Regions from separate parts of the Homo sapiens genome. Here region 1 is linked to region 2. The links are contacts of gene promoters, found by promoter capture Hi-C in blood cells and fetal thymus (Javierre and others, 2016). All regions are on one chromosome and are shown on one strand. Each heading gives the region's core, a stretch centred on a gene start or on the middle of the fragment in contact. The rest is flanking DNA. Distances are from core to core; before and after follow the strand shown.

What was found. Contacts are between HindIII fragments. The CHiCAGO score rates a contact against its expected background, and 5 or more counts as called.
Region 1: a fragment that was not itself captured here is called in contact with the fragment with the promoter of C3orf36 in region 2 in 1 of 17 cell types (megakaryocytes); the score reaches 6.5 in megakaryocytes.

What each region holds. Positions count from the first base shown.
Region 1 is chr3:133,832,460-133,836,047 of GRCh38, reverse strand. It overlaps RAB6B (RAB6B, member RAS oncogene family), which reads left to right. Exons shown (of 8, transcript NM_016577.4): 7 at 1,407-1,473. Among named protein-coding and RNA genes, the nearest start is that of SRPRB, 28 kb to the right of the region's middle. RefSeq lists a silencer at 291-471. The HindIII fragment of the contact is 9,695 bases long and covers 1-3,588 here.
Region 2 is chr3:133,927,479-133,931,408 of GRCh38, reverse strand. C3orf36 (chromosome 3 putative open reading frame 36) reads left to right here and starts at 1,597. Exons shown (of 1, transcript NR_161373.1): 1 at 1,597-3,264. RefSeq lists a silencer at 3,439-3,930. The HindIII fragment of the contact is 5,965 bases long and covers 1-3,930 here.

The DNA.
Region 1 (3,588 bases), core at 647-3,146, 96 kb after region 2:
GGAGGGTATGAGCCCAGAGCCCACCCAGTTCCTGCAATTCACATTTGTGAGGACAGCGGGAGTGCTCCTGGGTTAGTCCTTTCAGGCTACCGTAACAAATCACTATAGGCAGGGTAGCATATAAACAGCAGAAATGTATTGCTTACAGCTCTGGAGGCTGGGAACTCCATGGTCAAGGTGCAGGCATATTCAGTGTCTGGTGAGGGCCCATTTCCTCCTAGATGGCACCTTCCTGCTGCATCCTCACAAGGTGGAAGGGGCAGACAGGCTCCCTCGGGCCTCATTCATAAGGGCACTCATCCCGTTCATGAGGACTCTACCCTCCTGACTAAGCACCTCCTAAAGCCCCACCTCTTTATACTGTCACATTGGAGATTCTGTTTCAACATAGGAATTTGCAGGGGGACCGGCATTCAGAACCTAGCAGTTCAGAGTCTTCTGTGCCTCATACTTCTGCCTCGTACCTGTCACCTCCAAGATTCCATCTCTGCCAGCACCCCATCTGCCACTTGCCACCTGTCCCCTGCCACCCACACCTGCCCAAACACACACACACACACACACACACACACACAGAAAACCCACATGTACGCAGACACACACCTTACCAAGGACACACACTATGCACACATTCCCCCCACACTTACACAAACACACACATAAAGATGCCACACGTTCACACACACCACACTCAAACATTCCCCCATATGCTTACACAAACATACATGCACCTACCCACACGCACCACTCACAACACACACATTTTCCACGCAGTCCTACAGATAAAACACATACACTGTACACACACTCCTACACACAATAAACAACTCACACTCCTACACATCCAAACAAGCCCACAAAATTGTGTTCACACTCCTGCATCCCTCGCGCTCTCAGAGAAGCCTCACCACTGTGCCCATGCAGCCCTGGCCCTGCTGTTCGCTGCCTTGGCGCCGGACCTGCAGGGCTCCCCAAGCAGAGTCATTCATCTCAAGGGCAAGTCACTTCCCCATGCCTGGTCCCCATGAGGGCTGTTTGCAGAAGCCCACCTTAAGGCCTGTCACCCAGAGGCCCAAACCATTTTCTGCACCAGAGGAAGTCCCTTGCAGTCACTGCCATGACCTAAGCTCATCCCAGTGACCCTATGGCCAGTCTGCTTGGGTGAGAGGCCACAGCTTTGTTCCTTCCTTCCACAAGCTACTGAGGCCTGCCCAGACCCAATGCTGTGAGAGGTGGGGGAGAGAGAACATAGGCACAGCCCCTGCCTTTGAGGGCACCGTCCGCTGGGCAGATGGGAGAGTAAAGCTGCAGGTTGGGAGGGGAAGAGGGGTGAGGGTGCAGGTGCAGTGAGGAGCAGAGGGGAGGGCCAGGGTTGGGGTTCACACTGCATTTCTTCATCTTTCCAGCTTTTTCGACGTGTGGCGTCGGCTCTACCCGGAATGGAGAATGTCCAGGAGAAAAGCAAAGAAGGGAGTATCCTTTTCCTTTGACAAGTGAGTGAAAAGATGTATAGAAGCCATTTATTCACTGAATATGTTAGTGCAGTGGACAGACACTCGCCCAGTCCCCGCCCAGCCTTCCCTGGTCTGCCGCGAATGGCACGGGGCCTCCTCTAGGCGGGATGCAGCTGAACCCTATGGTTTGGAGCCCCCGTCTGGCTCTAACCATCTACTTCTTCTTCCAGAATAGCAGGAAGATACCAAAGGGGTGTGCACAGAGTGATGCTGTGGGGTGGGGAGTGAGAAACAGCGACTTTGCCCTTCTTTACAGCGAGCATGTTTATGGGTTTCATGAACACAGGCAGAGTCTCCACTGCAGGGAAGTCTCTGTCACTGGGGATATGATCTCAACGTGGTTCAGTCTACTCAAGACAGCTCCCCCCTTCAGACAGATGCCCCCTCCTTGTCCCGCCCACCTTCTCTACCCAGCCCTGAACAGCTCCTGAGGCTCCCCACTGATCTGTGGGACCATTGCGCATCACCCACAAACCAGCCCCAACCTGAAGAGACACCTAGATGCTGAAACTGAGGTTCAGAGAGGTAGTCTGGTTTGCCCAGTGTCACACAGCATGTAAGTTACAGTTAGGATTCACACTCAGGCTTGCTTCCTCCATATCCAGCCCTATTCCATGTGGGACACTGTCCCTCTAAGGGCATTTGAGAGAATCAGATGAAAACTGTTTCAGCAGGGGAAGCCATTGCCCACACCTGGGCCTCCCCTGCATCTAGTCAGATGTCCCTGCCTGAGTAAGCCACCAGAAAACAAGCATGCAGATCCCTGGCTGGCATCCTTTACAGTGGACCTGTCCCTACACAGCAGCTCTCCAACATCCCCCACTGATCCTATAGGCCTCTGAGGGTAGACATCCCTGACAGATCAAAGAAGGGCCCTGGGAAGATGGAAGGGCACCTTTGGGCTGATGAGAATCAAAAGCAAAAGAAGCACACAGCTTAATGTTGGAGGCCTCATGGAGCTGCTGGGGCAGGGCGGGCAGGACACCAGGAGTCCCAGGGCTGCAGCAAGGGGGAGCCTGACACAGGCCTGGAGGGAAGCTAGGCCTCTCCAGCCTTGCTCAAGGAGCTCTCAGAGCAGACTCGAGACCCACCCCCCGGGGGGGTCAGGAAGGCTCACCAAGGAGCAGGTGCCCCAGCAGTCCCACGGTCTGTGTGTCACCAGAGGACAAGCAGTGGCCGAGAGGAGGGGGTTTGAGGAGTATCTCCTGGTTGGTCAGTTATGAGACTCCAATCACAGATAAGGAAACTGAGGCTCAGAAACTTAAACTAGGGCACCCCACGGCTCTCAGTAGCAGAGACAGGCTCCAGAGCTCAGGAGAGAGCCCCTGTGGAATCACCTGTCACATGGGACTCCTTTGAGGTTCCAGGAACATACAGAAGCCAACCTGAAGGGCAAACATAGGAGCAGGAACAAGGGAGAGGGGCAGACAAGGTGCAGGCGATCTCCGCTGTGCCTGCCAGCAAGGGGAAGGGTTGCACTGCCCGCTCTCCATCCCACCAGCTCCCAAGGTGTGGCACACTGGCCGGGGTGAGTGGTGATCGTTTCATTCACATTCTCCCAGAGTCGCGCTGTTGAGGGCTCCAGGCTGGGCCCACAGTCAGGTCAGACTGGGCTGAGTGCAGGGTGACAGTGAGCTCGTCATCGTCCTGGTATGCCTAGCGTTTCATCCAGCTACCACTGACCTTTGGGCCCCTTGGGAGAAAGGATACATGGCAGGTTGCAAACAGACTGCACAGGGTGTTGTGACCTGTGTCCCTTTTTCTAGCTAAGGGGTCCCCTCATCTGGGTAGATGTACCCCCATCCTTTCACTTCTGCCCAGGAGCCAGCTTGCTGGGCCTCTCACGAGGCAGGTGCTAGAGCGGCCACCAGAGGTCCCAGAGGGACCAGGCAGAGGCAGCCGTCATTCTGCTTCTTTCGGGATGGGGTGTTGGCATTTCTGCTTACTCACAGTCCAAATCCAGGTGTTTTGAAGGTGTGTGCTTTGGGGTCATGTTCATAATTGTGTTCCACATTGAGAGCAGCCACACAGAAGCACTGCTTTGTGGCGCTGTATAAACTGTTCACACCTGGCC
Region 2 (3,930 bases), core at 348-2,847:
GGTCCTTGGATGCCTACGCATTCAAGGGTGCCATTGTGGGTCTTTGGTCCCTTTCCCATTTGAGGCTGTTTAATGGCCCTGCTTCTCACCTGAGCCTGGAAACCCTACAAAGCCGAGACCCCAGGGTTAGGCCCACCTCCCTGTGCACACTCGCGGCTATGCCCTCTCCCGGCCCCAGTCCTAGGAAGCCCACTCCTCTGCACCACTCCCTCTCCCTACAGAATCCCGCTCCTCAAGGGCTGAACAAAAAAGCCGGAAAAGGAAGAGTGTGCAGGAACCTTTTTTATTCAATCCTTCTTTTACCCTTCTTGGAAAAAGCGCAAATACAGTGATAACTAAATACCGTATCTCTATCAATTATCCTTTGGCCCAAAGCCCTTTGGGGTGATCCTCCATGATGGATGCCCCATGTAAAGGTGAGGAATCTGATCCCGAGGAAGCAACCATTGTGGCCAATTTCACATAGATAATAGCTGGCCAGGTCTAGACTCAAACCAGGCTGTCCACTTCTCTCTGGTCCAGCCCAATTGCCCCAGCTGAGTCATTCTGAAGAGTCAGCATGGACTAAAATGGTGGGGAGGCCCCTCTTTTCCCACTGATGTTCACTGGCCCATGGGAGGGAAGTGGGGGAATCTCTTGAGGGCCATTAAGGTGGGTAACAAAGGCAAAAGAACCAGGTAACAGTTCATTTACTTACCTTCTATTCAACTAGCAACAACATCACAACTATTCATTAAACAGGGCCAATTTATCCCTATAGCACCATGAGTTAAAGAGAGTTGTGGAGAAAAGAGACAAAGAGGGAAGGGTTTTGAGAAGAAAAGGCCCTGAGAATCCTGCACACAGACCTTCAAGGGAACAGCTCCATCTGGTGACTGCTTAGCAGATTCTTGCTCAAGAAACAAAGCCATATTGTGATTTTATTCAACCACTCTCAAAGATGGAGAGATACAGTTAAGCTGGAGGCTGAAGCCAGTCAGTATCAAATTGATACTAAAATATTATATTGCAGCAAATCCAGAAGAAATACATCCTATCTTTCGCAACCACAGGAAGTAAATACCTGGAAGAAAGGTCCATCTCCTGCCAGTAGCACCAGACACCAGATTCATTATAACCTTTCATCAGAGATTAAATATGGAAACAGATCCTGGAAAAGCCCTTGGCAAATCATAAATGAGAGGAAGTTTTTCTCCATGGCATACCCTGGCCATTCCTCCACTCTCCAGCCACATCATGTCTCCAGCCCTGCTACAACTTGACAGCAATAATAATAACTAAAATGTGCACAGATCTTTACAGTTTACCAAGCCATTAACCCATTTAAAACACTTCTTTAATCAGTAAATCAGTGGGGAAAGGCTTGGCTATGCTGTGGTAACAAACCTCTCGAATCTTAGTCACTTGACACAACAAAAGATGGTATCTCGCTCACAGAACCTGTGGTGATCTGGGTGACTCTCAGGTCAGTGGCTCAGTAGTGCCCCTCTGCCTGCTCAGGGCCTGGAGGATTGGCCTGAGAGCCCCCCCAACCAGTGTCTCAGTAACTCAGACTGTTTGGAACCTGAGGTACCTCCATTTCATTATAAGCTGCCATGATGGATGGGGCAGGGGAAGAAAGTCCTGGAAGATCCCGCACTGCTAAGCAATGCTTTGTCCCAAAGTAACGCTCTTCACTCTGCTCCCAGCCTAGCTGCCGCAAGAGCGGAACAGAATATTCTGTGTGCTCAGGAGAAGAAAAGAGCAGATATGGTTGAGCACTAAAACCCTCTACTGTGGGTAGTGAACCTAGGTGGACACAGTTGCTCACCGGGACACTTAAACCAGCTTTGCGGGGCTGTCGGGGTTGGGAAGCACAGTCTGGAAAGATTTCCCAATGGAGGAAGCACCAATTGTGGGTCCCTGAAGCTGAGGGGATGATGCCCAGGCAAGGCCGAGGCAGTCTGCAGAGGGCTGGGGAGGTGGGAAAGACGATTTTGCTCAGAGGAGGCAGAGATGGGGTGGTGGCTGAGAGAGATGCAGGGTCAAGGAAAGGATGGCTTCAGAGAGGAGAGATTTGCTGGGGCAAAAGGCCACAGGATGGGGAGGCTGCGGGGTCCAAGAGGACAGCTGATGGAGCGAGACCCTGCAGGCAAGGAGGAGATGGGGTGACTCATGGCAGAATCGCACCAGAGTTCCCACAGCCCTGTGCGGCCACTATGACTAGTCCCATCCTGTACATGGAGAAAACGAGGCTCCTTCCAGTTGTCCCTCACGCCTCCCTTGATTTATGTACTACCTGATGTGTATAAGGACAGGTGGTGACAAACACATGGTCCCTACCCTTCAAGGACATATAATCCAGAGCTAAGACAAGACCTTAACACAGGGCAAAGTACTATGCTCTGAGTTCATTTGATGAGCGATGGGAGAACGGGCTTGATCCTAGCCATGCGGGAGAGACTGGAATTCAAGAGAGTCAAATGTGCTGGGAAAGACTTTCTGGGCAAAAGGAATAAGCAAAGGTGTGCAAAGGTAAGGAAGCAGGAAACCTTTGCACATCTTGAGAACTCGCCGGCCAGAGGCCTGTGAAGGAGCGCAGTGGTCAGGCAGGAGAGGCAGTCGGATGCAGGCTGAGACCATCCTGGAGGGTCTTGAGGCTGGCTTACCCCAGGCTGTGAGTAGTGGGCTCAGCCTAGTCCCGGCTCCTGGGTTAGTGCTCACGTGTCTCTCTGCCCCCTCAGGGCCTGGAGGAATGGCCTTAGAGCCCCCACCAACCACGCTCAGGAAGGCATTCCTAGCTCAGAGTACCCTCCTGGAGTCTACACTGGAAGGGGCTCCTGAGTGGGCCGCGCCACACCCCGAGGAGCAGAGGCGCAGTCCTCCCGCGTGCTCCCAGCACACTCCACCCCTACCCAGCACACCCACGGGGCCCCCACCTTGCTCACCTGGGGGGAACCACCCACTCTGCGCCCTCTCAGGGAGAGGTGGTGGCCGCTGCTCTATCCCCTCCCTCTCTTCCTCTTCCACCTTCTCTCTCTTCTCATCTGGGTGCTGGAACCCAAGGGTGAAACTGAGAGTCAGAAAGTCTCAGTCTCAAGGCAGAGCGGGGCAACTAATTTAAAACGGCTTCTACTCCGGCCCCCAGTGTGACTAATCTCCTTCTCTTCGCTCCACAGGTCTATAAATGGGCCACAGTAGGCACCCCTTTTTAAATCTGTAAAATCCCCAAATCCATTAAAAGTGACTTCAGAGGTCCCAGATAGGGACCAACATTTGTTTAAACCTTTTCCTCATTACATCTCATGACCGCCAGCTTACAAAAGAGAGACTGGGGGTTCTGGATGAGACGTATGCAATCCCTGAGTCCACCTTGGAAAGGACAGAGGCAGGTGTCACACCGTTCCTCTTTGACCCGAATCGCTTGAATCCCAGAGTTTCAACAGCTCAGGTGGGTTGAAGGCTCAGAATGTACCAGACATCCGAAGCGCTTTACATACATTTGCTCCTTGAATCTTCACGACAGCCCTGTGAGATGCAATAATCATGCCATTCCACAGACGAGGAAACGGGCCCAGGGGACTGCGGTCTCGGCTCCTTTCCTCTGGCTTTCTCAGAAAAGGCGCGGAGGCCCCCGCCGGGTGGGCGAGGCGGGGTGGGCGGCCCCTTGCGCCCTGGAGTCGCATTCCGCCACCAGGGGGCGCCGCCCCTCCGCCGCGGCCCGGGGAAGCCACCCGCGGAGGCGCCACGCCCAGCCCGCCCACGGGACGCCCCCGCGGCCCCACAGCCAGCCGGGCGGGACTCCACCACCCGGCTCAGCGCGCCTCCGATAGCCCGCTTCCCCGCCGGGGCGCCCTCGGGCCTGCGGGGCTCCCCGCGCCCACCGCACGCACGCACGCACGCCTTCCCCTACTCGGAGGGCCCGGCGGCTGAGCCCACCGGCGCCTGCTC